Regions from separate parts of the Homo sapiens genome. Here regions 1 and 2 are each linked to region 3. The links are contacts of gene promoters, found by promoter capture Hi-C in blood cells and fetal thymus (Javierre and others, 2016). All regions are on one chromosome and are shown on one strand. Each heading gives the region's core, a stretch centred on a gene start or on the middle of the fragment in contact. The rest is flanking DNA. Distances are from core to core; before and after follow the strand shown.

Region 1 (5,065 bases), core at 2,317-4,816, 840 kb before region 3:
AAAGTAAAGAACTGTTTTCACTGTCCTCTGGAGATTGTATATGTGCTTGATGCTGCAATGTTACGATTTTCTATCTGGGAGTGGACTGTACCTTCCCGACTTTTCAAATGCAGTATTAAGGACAGTAGTGAACACAGGGAGAGGTTCAACAGCAAGCCTGAAGGTTTATGGCAAATTGAAATCTAATCCACATGAGGTCAGTGGCCTAGAGAAGATTCTATAGAAGGAAGTGGGACAGGGTGCTTCAGACCTTGGCCAAAACTAGATTAATATGGTTAGGATTATGACACATGGCAAAGGTACCATAAGGAACATGCAAATGCTTTAACATGAAGAGTTCCATAAGGAGAAACACAGCTTGACTTCCTGGGGCCCCATTCCATAAGCATGCATATTTTTCCACAGTTGCAATATTACAGCAATTTTATTTTCCTCATTTAACTTACATATTCTTAGATTTTTACAGTTTTCAAGGTATCATACATTACTTAATTACTTGTCCATCTTTCTTCTCTTTTTTTTTGGTATTAGTAACGAAGCAATGAACAACTTTAGGCAAATATAATTTTGCTACTTAAAACCCTAGATTGCCTCTTGTAAATTGACTAAAGAAAAGAGCATCCATTACCAAGAGTAACACTGAACAACTTTTCCCTCTAGCAAGATGCCTTTTAATTTAATTACATTTATTCTTCCACCCAGTTTGAATGGAGAATCACAAAATCATATGTGCCTTAACCCCCATCTATCGCAAAACACATAGGCTATAGTTTCTTGATTTAATGCTGGTGATTTAATGGCACCAATTGAGCGTTAAAATGTAAATTACTCAAAGACAACAGCAATTCCTAAATTGCAGCCTTTCCAGAGTTCAAGTCTAAGAGTTATAATTTAACAATACCGTTATGACATAAACTATAAAAATTATCATTAAACACAACTGGAACTTGTTTATATTTCTCTTAAAAAAAACAGGGTTTTTAAATATACCTTTAAACCCTGAAATCCAAGAATATTTGAATAAAGATAATCCAATTCTGTAATTTTTCTAACTCCCAGCAGGTGGCGATGTTGCTCGCTGGTGTGGTCTCTGAGGGGCTAGAAGTCTCATTGAGAGCACAGGCGGATGGTCAACCTCGGACAAGATGAAACATGGGCAGTTCTTGCATAAGAGAGATGCAGTCTTTTGTTAACCACTAAAAACTTCTAAAACTATTTATTAAACTGAGTTAGCTTCACTTTGTAAAACTAACTTTTCCCCTACGTCGCCCCCTCCCTACAACTGCGCATAGATTCCCTTTGATTATTCAAAAAGTTTAATTCATTAATCTGAAAGTTAAGAGCTTTCACCCACTGATTCCAATTTATCTGTCTGTCAGTGGTGAAAGAGTTAAGAACATGACGTCACAATATGCTGCTCTGGAATACTGATTATTTGGAGTTGAAGGCACTTGGAAAACAGCAGGTGCAAGAAGGTCACGCTGACTTTCCTTCTGTTTCTTAACAGCAGGCGATGGAAGTCCCATGTGAAAGATGTCCTTCTTATTCCAGAGGGAAAGTTCCATTCTAATCAGCAGGGGGAAGCTGAAGCTTAGGGGAATCTGTGCAAACAAACCTTATTAAATTAACCCTTATCTTCCTAGTCACATATCCGCTTACTTAACTCCCCTAGCCCAAACCCCTTGGCCTTGTCACATTTTCACAATTTACTGCTCTTTGTCCAATTCACTATCTAAATCTTCAACTGTAACTGCATCTTGGGGTCTTCATTTTTTATGAGGGCTCTTGCGCCATGCAAAACTTGTATTAAAGAAATGTGTATACTTTTCTCCAAGTAGTCTGTCTTACACCAATTTCAGTCTCAGGCGCAGCCAAAAATCTCTAAGTGAGTAGGGGTAAATTTGGCCTCTCCTGCAGTGGCATAGAGGATGGATACAAATAGGGAACGACAGGAAGCAGGGAGAACAATTAGGAGATTCCCGCAGTGTTTTAGTTAGAGCTATTTAAATTACTGAAATTTAAAAAGGAGTTCATTATAAAGAATTGGAATGCAGCAGGCCCGAGGAATAATATCAACAGGAAAGGTGACCACTATCAGACCTCTGCCTCTAATTTCTGTCTTTGCTCTTATCTATGTATTTGTTTCCTTCTCTCTCTTGAAGACAGGCACTTTCTCTCTCTCTTTCTATTTTTTTAGACGGAGTTTCGCTCTTGTTGCCCAGGCTGGAGTGCAGTGGCACAATCTCGGCTCACTCCCACCCCACCTCCCGGGTTCAAACGATTCTCCTGCCTCAGCCTCTTGAGTAGCTGGAATTACAGGCATGTGCCACCACATCTGGCTAATTTTTCTGAATTTTTAGTAGAGACGGGGTTTCTCCATGTTGATCAGGCTGGTCTCGAACTCCCAACCTCAAGTGATCTGCCTGCCTCGGCCTCCCAAAGTGCTGGGATTACAGGCATGAGCCACTGCACTCGGCCTCTTTTTTTGGTACACACGGGGAGAATATGACCATCAACCCAGATTCTACATTTTCCATCATCACAGAAACGGATTATTTTGTTAGTCTTAGGGAAGGATTTTGATTAGCCTAATTCGGACTGATCATTTGTGACCAGTGGAATACGATCAAGTTGTTCAAAATGGTTGTGTCCTAACCATGCAGATGGGAGAAGCAGGTCAGTTCCTGGAAGATGAGGCTGGGATTGCAAAGACTTGACAATGTGCCCCGTACATATTGAGGCCTAGATGTGAAGTAATGCTGTACTGTGCCACGGTGATGTTGAAGGAACAATAAAAAGAGGACATACATAGGAGACATTTGGGGGAAAGAATTTGTACAACATGGAGAATGATTAGATAAAAGGTGAAAGAAAGCATCAAAGAACTCCAAATACTATAAATCAAAACAAGAAAAGGGAAAAGGTGGAACCATGAGGGGATGACATGAATGCAATCGAGTGATTTGAAGATGCAGATGGTTTTGAACTGGCTTAGAACGTCCACCAGGATTTTTGTGGCAGATCGTAATATAGGTCAAGAAGGATTTAAATTTAGTTCTTATATTCTCAAATTAATAACTCAATGAATTGCTTTAAGTTTTGAAAATTTACTTTCATAAGAGTCAGATCTGAACTGGCTTCTCTATTTCGGCAGAAGCACCATCATGAATCTCAGAACCTTTAAAAAGACACCCAAGAGTAGCAATTTTCTTTCTGAGAGTACGGATTCTATTTCTGACATGTAATTTTCCTTATACCCAACACCAAAAATGGGGACTTGAATCATAAACATATTTAACACTCAGAGGAGACATTAGTAGGATCCTTTTAAATATTGAAAACATAATGAAATCAGGATCCCAGTCCAAATAATGTGCCTTTTCTTAAAAGGCAAAAACAGTGTGGGAGACTAAATCCAGGAGTTCTTGATTCAAGTCTAATTTGGGCTCCATTTAACTAGGACCTCTGTATTATTTTTATTTGATTAAAGAAATGTTATCCATATTACTCAGACTAGACAACCAATAAGAAATAGAAAAGGATTATAACTAGACGGAATGTATAGGTACACTACATGCTCTTTTTACTCTTCTAAAATCCAGAGGATTGATGATATTGTCACTGTTGCATTAAAACATCTGTGATTTGGGAGAACAAAGGCAAATTTTGACTAGCCTAATTTGGGTGGATCATCTGCGACCAGTGGAATGTGATCAAGTTGTTCAAAATGGATGTGTCCTAACCATGCAGATGGGAGAAGCAGGTTGGTTTCTGGGAGATAAAGCTGGGGCTGCACAGACCTGATATTGTGCCTGGTAATTATTGAGGCCTAGACATGAGGTAATGCTGTCCTGTGCCATGGAACCTAAAGAACTTAATCCAATGCCCTATCCCACTAGATAGGCACTGAGCTATCTTGGGCAGCTGACTTGCTTCTATATCACAATTTGCTATTTCACAGTCTAAAATCAGTATCTACACTGAGGAATCTTGGCTGATCTGTGGCAAAGGCTACTCATTTACCTATTCCTTAAACACTGAGTTTATTTAGTGCTCATTTAAAGCAAGTTTGGGGAGGGCTTGTCTCCTTCATGCCTCCACTCCTTTTGTTCAAAATCCTTTTCTTTTTCTCCTTCACTTTTTCATTCCTCTGGGTTGTCTTGTATCCTAGTCTGCTCCCATACAGGTGAAATTACTGACTTATATCCTGATCAATTTCCCCACTTTTCCTTTAAACTTCTCTTCCACCTCCTACTCAATTCTTGCCCATTCTATACAATGTATTTATTTTGTTATTGTCATGGTAAATACTCAGGGACAGGGAAAGTTTTAGTTATTTGAAGGGGACTGTGTACTTGAGAAACAGAAGTGTAAAATCTGTGAGTGTATTAGTCATCTGTTGCTGTGTAACAAATTATCCCAAAACTTAGTGGTTTACAAAAAAAAAATTTTATTATCTCACAGTTCCTATGGGTCAGGAACCTGGCCTTGGCTTAGCTGGGTCCCCTGCTTTAGGGCCTTTCATAGGCTGCAATCAAGGTGTCAACTGGGTCTACAGTCATCTCAGGTCTCAACCGGGGAAGCATCTGCTTCCAAGCTCACTCATATGGTTGTTAGTTGGATTCTGTTCCTCCCACCGAAGGCCACAGTTCCTTGCTGGCTGTTGGCTGGAGGCCACCCTCAATTCTTTGCCACATGGCCTCTCCATGGGGCAGCTCAGAACAAGGAAGTCAATTTCCACTGGAGGGAGAAAGCAAGAGAGTGAGCAAGACAAGTCATAGTCTTCCATAATCTAATCTCAGAAGTGACATCTCATCTTTTTGCTGTATTCTGTTCGTTGATAGCAAGTTTTTAGATCCAGCTTACACTTAAGAGGAGGGGATTACACAAAGCCATGACTATCAGGAAGTGAGGATCACGGGAGGCTATCTTTGAATTTTGCCCCACACCTAGCACATGCTATATAGTAAATAAAAGAAAGAATGTTACAATCCTAGTGGGGTATTTGAGAGATTATGTTCAGCTGCATTTTTTCCTATTTGCATACCTACGTTTGTGTGTGGCT
Region 2 (4,857 bases), core at 1,646-4,145, 520 kb before region 3:
AAATAAAGAGAAAAAAATTCAAGGAAGAAAAATTCATGTTAGTAAAGTACTGGTAGTAACTAACTATTGGGTACTATGCTCAGTACCTGGATGACATGATCTTTCATACCCCAAATCTCAGCATCACACAATATACCCAGGTAACAAACCTGCACATATACCTCTGAGTCTAAAATAAAAGTTGAAAAAAAGAGAGAAAACTAGCTTTATTTTTAATGGTTTGCTTTAATGTAACAGCGGTGTGTTAACTCAGTACAAACATTGAAGGTGATCAGAAAACTCATGAATTTTTATTATAGGAACTGTGGAATATTCTATATATATCTGAAACTTATAGTTACTTGTTTTAGGATATCCATAATAAAACTCTTTCATGTGGTTTTCTGGGTCATTGTTTTCAGGAATAAGCTTGGTGTATAATATTGAATGCTCTTAGAAGTTGGATCTGCATATTTTCTCTTTTATCTCTACAAATTAAACAATACTAGGAACTATCTTCTATAAAATATAAATTTAACAATATGTTAATGACTATCTATAAAGATAATATACTTTTAAAAAAGTACTGGTAGTGAACAATGAAAAATTAAAATATATAAAATAAGTTATATTTACTGTTGTACCACAAAATGAAAGTTTATAGACTTTGGCAAATGTAAAAGATATTTATTTTAAAAGGTGTTTGTTGGTAAAAAGTTTACATTTGCTAATATCCTTATCTTTAAGAAGAAAGGTCAAAGGCTACTGTATTAGTCCATTTTCACACTGCTATAAAGCTACTATCCAAGACTGGGTAATTTATAAAGGAAAAAGGTTTAATTGACTCACAGTTCTACATGGCTGGGGAGGCCTCAGGAAACTTACAATCATGGCGGAAGGAGAAGGGGAAGCAAGGACCTTCTTCACCTGGTGGCAGGAGAGAGAAGTGAGGATGCAGGAAAAACTGCCATTCATAAAACCATCAGATCTCATGAGAATTCACTCACTATCACGAGAACAGCATGGGGGAAACTGCCTTCATAATTCAATCACCTCCCTCCCTTGACATGTGGGGATTACAACTGGAGATAAGATTTGAGTGGAGACACAGAGCTAAACTATATCAGCTACTGAAAAAAGTTGATAAATTAAAAAAAAATTAAAAATAAAAATAAAAAAAAAAGTAGACAAGGCTTAATTTTGTTGATGAAACCTATGACAGACTTCTAGACCCACCTTACTTTCAAATTCTTGGGCACTTAAAATAATTACTTAAGTAATATAAAGTGTACAGAAGCCAACAGAGAATATGTTTCTTTGCCTTAGTCCTCCAGTCCTACCCTATGTATAACGTGCCCCCAGCATATACCCTTTGTATACATAGGACTGTTGTCTTACCACAGAAACTAAGAACTAGAATTGTTGGATCAAATGGAATGCACTTTTTAAATAGTAATATATGCTGCCCAACTATCTTCCGAAAAGCCTTCACTACATTATTATAATCTCACCAAAAGCACATAGATGAGAATACCTATTGCCTATATTTATTAACACTGAATGTTATTGATCTATTGAATAAAAAGTTATCTTAATATAAAATTTCAAAAAAAAAAAAAAAATTGAAGATAAGCCACAGACTGAAAGAAAATATTTGCAAAAGACCTATCTGATAAAGGATTGTGATTCAAAATATACAAAGAACCCTTAAAGTTCAACAAGAAAATAAGCCACCCGATTGAAAAATAGGCCCAAAAGACTTACCAGGCAGGGTAGATACCATGACCACAAGGGTAGTTTTCCCTAGGGCAAGGCTTCTCTATTCCACTGAAGACTTGCTGATCCCTGTGATTTCTCCAAATGTGGGAAACTCAACTGCGTAATTTGTGGTAGCAGCATACTGCATTCATGCTTTTCCCCAGTAAATAAAAGGAAAAAATGAGCCAACAACCTGAACAGACACCTTACCAAAGAAGATATACAGATGGCAACTGAGCATATGAAAAGATGCTCCACATATATGTCAATAAGGAATTGCAAATTAAAACAACGAGATCCAATTGCCCGCCCATTTGAATGGCCAAAATCCAAAACACTGATAATGCTACTGCTGTTGAGGATGTGGAAAAAGAACTCTTATTTATTGCTGATGGGAATGCTGTAAATAATATTACAAAGACATGTGTACCTGTATATTCATTGCAGCACTATTCATAATAGCAAAGACATAGAGTCAATCTAGGTGCCCATCAATGATGGATTGGATTTTTTAAAACATGGTACTATACACTATGAAATACTATGAAGCTATGAAAAAGAATAAAATCATGTCCTGTGCAGCAACATGGATGCAGCTGGAGGCCATTAACCTAAACAAATTAACATAGTAACTGAAAGCCAAATACCACATGTTCTCACTTATAAGTGGGAGCTAACCTTTGGGTGCCCATGGATAAAGATGGCAACAATAGACAGTGGGGAATACAAGAGGAGGGAGGGAGGGAAAGGGGCAAGGGTAAAGTTGAAATAATTTTTTTAATTTTTTAAAAGGATATTTTTTGGCTCATGGAGTCCAGGGGTGGATCTAGCTTCAATTAGTTCTAACTCAGGGGTTCAAATGATGTCCTGAGAACCTAGTCTTTCTCTGTCTCTTTGATCTACTCTCTTAAAATACAGATTCCTAGGACCTAGCTGAGACATAATGAATCAGAATCCCTAGAAGTTAGACTCCAGAATCTTTATTTAAAATAAAACAAAACAAAAAAAACTTCCCAGAAGAATGTCATAAAGCTCTTATTGGTTAAATGTTTTATCCATGTATAGCAAGCTAGTTACAAGCTTCTTGCAGGCATAAACAACTTCTTTAGCATCCTAATCATATCTAAGATTGTACGAAGGGGACATAAAACAGGTACTCTGCAAAGTCTGGTAGATCTGGGAATGCTGGAAGCCTCATTCATGTTGGCATCAAAAGGTATTTGAAAAAAAATTGTGATAAGCTTTGGAAAAATCTGGGCTAGTGAAAATTGGATTTAAAGTTTTTTTAAAATACAACTATACCCAAACAGTACTAGTGAATAAACTAGAGTTGATGAAGAGAAGAGCTGCACACAGTATTTCAAAGAACTCTGTTCTTGGCCCCAATTTGTTCAAAATTCTTTTGAACTTGGATAAAAATATAGATAATAAATATCATAATCTGCATCTGACAAAACCAGGAGATGGCACACAATAAAAATGTATTTCATAATGTTCTTGAATAGCATGGCCACCCAAACATTAGTTCAATTTTAGTATTCTTCCAGTATCCACATTATAAATATTTTTTGTATCTCCATTGTTGGCGCCATTTTTCCCCTGAGCATCAACATTTTGGCTGCCAGCTTGTCTGGACTTACATCTTTAAAACTCTAAATCTGGTGGGAAGAAAAGCTTTTCTTTTCCAACAACTGGAAAAAAATTTCTGGCCTAATTTTTTTTTTTAACACAACAGGATAACATACTTGTGAAATACCATTCACAGGGGCCAAGGAGACGTGATGCTGATTGGGCAAGCCTGAGCTCCACAATCACCACTTGGGAGCTAGCAGTGGTGTCTGCCACACCTGAGACACATATAGGCTAAGAATGGCAGCAGGGGTGGGTAGGTGGGGGTGTCCCCAAGAAAACTTGCACTAGAAAACAGACTGGCTGCTGAGCTGCTAATAAGCCAGGGTCCCTGCTCTCCAGGAGCTTATGTGCCACTCACGAAGACGTCTATGTGAACAGATATTTTCAGTATAAGGTGGCAAATGTTGGAATAAAGGTTTACAGGGTAGAGAGGCATGTCAATTCATGCTGGGGGCCAAGATTGTGTCTATGGAAGGTTCCAGGGAGAGATGAAGTCTGAGTCTAGAAAAATTCCTAAGTTTTTATGGGTAGAGAAGTTGAGAATGATCTATGGATGTTTCCAGGCAGTTTAACTATAAGATTTGATCTCATTGAAGGTAGGAATCATGTCTTATCTTTGTCACTCTGGAATGCAACACAGTGACTGGCATGTAGCGGACACTCAATACATGTTTTATAAACTTATTAATATTCCTTCATTAGTCCTCAACAAAAATTCTGTGGGGGATTTATAAGATGGGTATTTAACCTCATTATCCAGAGAAGGAAATTGAGATAGAGAGATTAGGTCATCAAGATCACGGTGCCAGCCAATTATGGTGCCAAGATAACCCCACAGAGACAGGGATGTATGCAGGCCAATCCAAACCAAATCTATCATGAAGAAGGCCACAAATCCTAGCTTTATGTTATTAAAGCAGCAAAATGACAAACAAAGTAAAGTCAAAGTCTTACTGTGGTTAGCAGTTCTTCTCATAAAGCCCAAAACACCAGATTTTCTTCTAATGATTTCAGATGTCAAGTGGTAAAAATTGATTTTACAATGTTCTTGAGTAAATAAGTACTGGGGAAAAAAATGAGGAGGAAACATGTTTGTTTGGGTAAATTGCTAAGCAACACCACACATGCCAGAAACTCCTTTTGGATTTCCTCTCGAGGTGGAGACCGCGAAACCAACGGGTACTTCACTTTGTGTCTGTTTCATCAGTTCACACTGGAAAATAAAAGCCAAACAGGCAATTCTAATAATACAAGAGTCAGAGGTGTGGAGGCCACTAATATTAAATTAGACTGAACTGTTTAAGGTTGCCTTTTAAAATGGCTCCTTCCAGCGTCCACGGTGGCACTAAGACTGAGGTGAGATTTGTGCAGCGTGTCCAGGAAGATCTAGCACACTGATGAAAAAAAAAACAAACAGCAGCCAGGCCATGTTATCTATCCCACTCGGTATTTCCAGATGCTACAGATGATGGAAATTTGTAATGTGAC
Region 3 (5,018 bases), core at 1,532-4,031:
TGGTTTATTTTTTATAGGAAAGTGTCAACATGTTTATTGCTAATATAAGCATTTAATGTCAAAGAAATGAAGGTAATTTTACAAACTCAGTTTTTGTAAGTACATGAAGTTTCTATTTGATTATGTGGTTTTATATCACATTCGTTCAAATGCATTTCTCTCCCTTAGAGGGACTATTCCAACATCACTCCTTTGGAATTATTTCAGTCATCCTTAACATGTGACTTTACCAAAGACCTTGAAGCTAAACAAACAAGCAAAACAAAATTTCAATGACTCTTAGATGAATGGAATAAGAAATAGTCATCACATGTCAATTAGGGATGTTCATCTCCAACCAAGACACTGTCAAAATGTTTCTTCTGATACAGCAGTTATAAGTCAGAGCCTTCAAAAAACAAGGGCAGAACAAGAGTACAATAAAAGAAGCATCTGCAACTTAAGCCTCCCACAGTCCTAAGCCTGATATGCGCAAAGCAAAGCCTCTTTCCCGCAAACTAAATTCCATCCATTTGAGCTTTCAGAGATCGATGCCCAAGAGCTATCATTAATATATACAGCATATTGACTCTAGTTGCATCAATTATGCCTGAAGAGTTTAATACCCATCCAAGTCCAAAGGTGGAAGAATACATACACTGGTATGGTAATAGGCAAGAGCAGGCTGTAAAAGCAAAGGCTGGCTGTGCTAGTGCAGCCCTGTGGGAAGTTTTCTTCCACAGAGGCTGAGTAGAACAGTCCTGCTAAAGAAACCAGTGGAATAAGAACAGTCAACGTAGGAAGAGACAGAAACATTCTTCTCTTCCACTTATTACCTGCCACTGTGTTTTAAAAGGTATATGGTATTAAGAAAAGTTGGCTGTTGCGTTTTTTTAATTTTTTTAAATTATGAACTAGCGCTGCTCCACTTCTTCTTGCTTCTTACTTTGACGTGTCATCCTAGCTGCCTGTGGTATCATATTAGGGATCCCATCAATGATTGGATAAGCTATTCCCAACTCTTCATTAATCAATTCGTTTGTTGATGCTTCATATCTGAGGTGGAAAAAAAAAGAACAAAATGAGTTGTGGGAAAATAAAATGCTTGAAGAGCCTGATTTTCAACAAATACCACCATTTATCCAATTTTTGGTACGGAGTTAATCCCAGAATAGTCTTCTTTAATTCTAAAAGCAACAATAGCCAATTCAACCTTTTATCTTAGAAAAATTCTCTTACAATCTATAATTATTCCCATTTTAGTAGTTTCTCTCATATTCTCTTTTTCACCTTATTCACAAGTTATTCCTTAATTTTTTTTCATACTAGTCAGAAAAGATCCCCCTCTCTTATCCAAATATTCCTTCATTACTTTGGTCAACCCCCAAACCATCCCTGTTAATTTACTACTGGAATAAACACTAGAGAAAAATCAACTTCTTCATTTTAGAATAAATGCTAAGTAGAGAAACTTAACTAATCCATTAGAAGGAAATCACTGGAAAAGGTGAGAGGGCAGAAATGAAGAAACTTTCGAAAGCACTAAGTCTGCAGTGAGCTAGTTATAAACGTAAATCAAATGATAATTTCAAGGTTCGAGAAAATTGAATAATATGTTTATTACGGGAAAAAGAAATACGAAAAATTGCTAGCAATCTACCATTCAAAGATAACCACTGATAACATTTTGGTGTTTATGCGATTTGTAATACTAGCGTTAGTGTTGTCAATATTCAATTTTGGTAGCTTGGAAACTGTAGAGCTGTCTTCCCAAAAACTAGTTAAAGAGGCTTCTACGAAACCTGCTAGGCCACAACTAAGAGCCACTGGGCAGCAAACACAGCTGAATTGCTTAAGATTGTCAGGCACCAGTTGTACAAGACACTTTCACAAGAATCTGGAGGGTACAACAATACTTTTCATTATCTTGGCTTAAAAACCGGAAGGCTTCGGACTTGTCCTGAATCGCAGTGGTTCATAAACCTGGTGGTACATTAGAAATCATTTAGGGACCGTTTAAGAACACAGATAAGCTGGGCGTGGGGGCGGCGCCTGTCTCTCGACTCCTGAGGAGGCTGAGGCGGGAGTTCTAGGCCAGTCTGGGCAACGTAGGGGGCACCCTGTCTCTTAAAAGGAAAAAAAAAAAGGAAAAGAAAATACAAATGTTCAGGTCCCATCCCGCGAGCATTCCAAGTCTGCCCGTCTTGGGGGCTGTCGGGGAATCGGCATTTTTAAAACGGTCCCCGGGTGATTGCAATGCGCAGCCGGTCGCGAACCCTAAAACGCTTCGAGCCATTCCCGCAGGCTGGCGTTGCGTTCTGGGAGATGTGGGACGCAGCTCCCCTGGCCTCCGGTCTCCCCCGTCCTGCCCGCTGTGCGCCCGGCGAGGACAGAGTCCAGAATGTGGCAGCGGAGAGTACCTGACCGACCTACAAGGCCCCAGTGGCTGCAAGAGGCCGCGGTCCACCGCTCCCTTTCCGCCCACCGGGAGGCTGCAAAGGAAGGGCCAAGGCCAGCGAGTTACCTGAGCGGCTTCTTGGAGAGCGGGCACACCAGGAACTCCAGCAGCGCCGGATCGAAGTCGCGGGGCGGCTCCTCAGTCTTCTTGCCCCGGTCGGCCAAAGGCCGCGACCCCGACGCGTGCAGGCACCTACGGGCGACCGCGGACGGCGGCGCGCGCGTTCCCCGCAGCGCTGAGGCGAGCCTGCAGCGTGCTCCACTCAGCATGGTCTGGCAGCCGGAGACCAGGCCTCACCGCAGCCTCGCCACCCGTGGCCGAGCTCCCGGCTTCCCGTTCGTCCAGGCCAGCCGGGCAGGCCCCGCCCCCTGGTCCTCCAGGAAACGCTGCCGAGGAGTAGGCGGGGCGGGCGCTTTGGTTCCGAGGGTGCTTCTGCTCCGACTGCTTTTCCCACGGGCGTCATCTATAGTCCGGAGGACAGCCCCAGGGCAGAGGCCTCTGGTGAGTGCCCCGCCGCCTTACCAGACTACAAACTAAACCAGTGTTTAAGTCAAGGTGTCTGGGTTTTCACCGGGGCCTGTCCAAGGATGCTAGGAAGCCAGTGGCCAGGCCTCAGAGTTGTAGGGAGTTAGGCTTGGACCTACGTGGTTACCTCCAAGTGAAGTTTCAAACACACTGTTATGTATTGTACCGAATGTATTGTCATGGATGTATTGAAAGCGCTCATTTGTTTCATGTACATCTTTACTATACCATTAGTTTCTGTAACCTTGTTTGGCTTTTTTCTCTCTCATTAAAAAAAGTGAGAACCTGGAAGGAAGGGCCTAGGCCTCTGACCCTCCAAAATATATAAATTCTTCCTGCCTGAGACCCAGTCATTGTGAAGTATTTGCGTAATAAAGCACAGCTAATTTACTTCTATAAATGAGCTTGGAGGCCGCAAGGGGCCTAAATAGCTGTGTAACAGGCAGATGTGATCTGCCTGTTAAAGATCCATTCAATGAGTGGGTGATCCATTCAGTGAATTTGTATCCCAGGTTTGCTTCCCACTCTCCAAGAAAGTGACCATGTTAGATCTCTTTCTTACAGTGTAGTAGATGGGAACTTGGGCTCTGGGGCCTGACAGCTTGGTTCCCTGTCCACAATTAGTAGCTGGATGACTTTGGCAAATGACTTAACTGCTCATTTTCCTTATCTGTATAAGACTAATAATTGTACCTACCTTGTAGGTAGGGCATAAATGTGATTGTGCATTCGAAGAACATTTAGAAAAGTGCCTGGCACAAATTAATGCTCCATTAATGTTGTCTATTTTTATTTTTAGTTCATCTAGTTTTTCCATGTCCGAAGACTCAAAGATTCTCATTAGTCATCCATTTTTTCCCTCCGTTCTGCTGAATATCAACCTGAACTTTTTTTTTGCATCACTGGGCATTATCATTTCACACTTTGAGTTCCTGGAGCTGGAAGTACAGAATCCAAAAATATGTTTATATTTTCAAATTTCTCTTCCACTCCAATGTAAAAATAAACTGACAAATGTTTATATGTTCATCCTAATTTTTTGTTTGTTTTTTGGGCCATCCTGTTTTTTTTAAAAAAAACAGTTTATTTTTTGATGTTCTTTGTTCACTAATGCTCAGAAGATTTTCTAAGGTTAATGTAGTTTATAGGATACCAAAAAGGAAACACTTCTACTGGATAGATATTTAAGAGATAATGAAAGTCTCTGGTTGCCTCACCTTCCTTCCCTCACAAAGCAATCTTTCACAGTCATAACTTTCCGTTATTAGAGTTACTAACGGACTAGAGAATAGGGCAGTTATCGGGACATACCCTCAAGGGAAACTACTGTAAAGTTCCTATGTCACCTTCACACTATTTCCGACTAGGGCAGTAGCAGGAATTAATTTTTCAGTTGAAGTCAGTTGATACTTTGGGCTCAAGGGAAGGGGTGAGCTGTAGGAAAGATAAGTTTCTGCTTAAGGAGAAACAGCGCTTGACTTCTGCAAGCGCTGAGTGGGCCCAACCCTTGGCGCTTGTTGGGTAGGGGAAGGCACCCATGCTTAAGCCTCAGCTAGCTTGGCTGACAGATCTCTATCAACTGGGTTTTCTAACCAGTTATAAATAAATTAGTTTCAGTTTGCCTCCACATAGAGGGTTTGAGGCAGTTCAGTTTACTTTATTTAGGGGAAGAATAGAGAGTAACAGCAAAGTATTGAAAACATCCTCAAATTTATAACACCAGAAATCAACAACCAATATTTAAGGAACATATGAATGTATGACTATCACCATGTGTGTATTAAGTTGCAACATATCAAAGCAATATGTCCCTAAATAGCCCTTAGTAATGAAGAAATACAATTCATTTCTGCCTGTAGTATACTAAGCTAAATGTAGATGATAGGATAGGATCATGGGACTGGAACTGGTCTTTTAAAAGTTAGTCCCTTTTCACTATTCACATGACTGACCTTTCGTGTCACATAGGCCTGTGCACAATAACCTGATGGTTTCTGGGCTCAGATACAATATAGCTGTGTGATCTTGGAGAAGCTACTTAAGTTCTCACCCTCAA

Evidence for each region. The method cuts DNA at HindIII sites, captures the fragments that hold promoters and counts their contacts. A CHiCAGO score of 5 or more calls a contact.
Region 1: a fragment that was not itself captured here is called in contact with the fragment with the promoter of PIGY in region 3 in 2 of 17 cell types (naive B cells and neutrophils); the score reaches 7.0 in naive B cells.
Region 2: a fragment that was not itself captured here is called in contact with the fragment with the promoter of PIGY in region 3 in 2 of 17 cell types (naive B cells and total CD4 T cells); the score reaches 5.8 in naive B cells.

The regions. Positions count from the first base shown.
Region 1 is chr4:87,678,565-87,683,629 of GRCh38, forward strand. All of the region lies in intron 2 of DMP1-AS1 (DMP1 and DSPP antisense RNA 1), which reads right to left. Among named protein-coding and RNA genes, the nearest start is that of DMP1, 31 kb to the left of the region's middle. RefSeq lists enhancers at 953-1,247, 2,117-3,060. The HindIII fragment of the contact is 3,957 bases long and covers 1,589-5,065 here.
Region 2 is chr4:87,998,502-88,003,358 of GRCh38, forward strand. It overlaps the pseudogene RNU1-36P. Among named protein-coding and RNA genes, the nearest start is that of PKD2, 6.7 kb to the right of the region's middle. The HindIII fragment of the contact is 161 bases long and covers 2,816-2,976 here.
Region 3 is chr4:88,520,995-88,526,012 of GRCh38, forward strand. PIGY (phosphatidylinositol glycan anchor biosynthesis class Y) reads right to left here and starts at 2,782. Exons shown (of 2, transcript NM_001042616.3): 1 at 2,504-2,782; 2 at 4-1,035. The coding sequence starts at 795. The coding sequence ends at 580. It overlaps PYURF (PIGY upstream open reading frame), which reads right to left and starts at 2,782. Exons shown (of 2, transcript NM_032906.5): 1 at 2,504-2,782; 2 at 4-1,035. The coding sequence starts at 2,706. The coding sequence ends at 894. It overlaps PIGY-DT (PIGY divergent transcript), which reads left to right and starts at 2,816. Exons shown (of 2, transcript NR_134663.1): 1 at 2,816-2,938; 2 at 3,771-3,997. It also overlaps a transcript of HERC3 not described here. RefSeq lists an enhancer at 2,080-2,139. The HindIII fragment of the contact is 19,176 bases long and covers 1-5,018 here.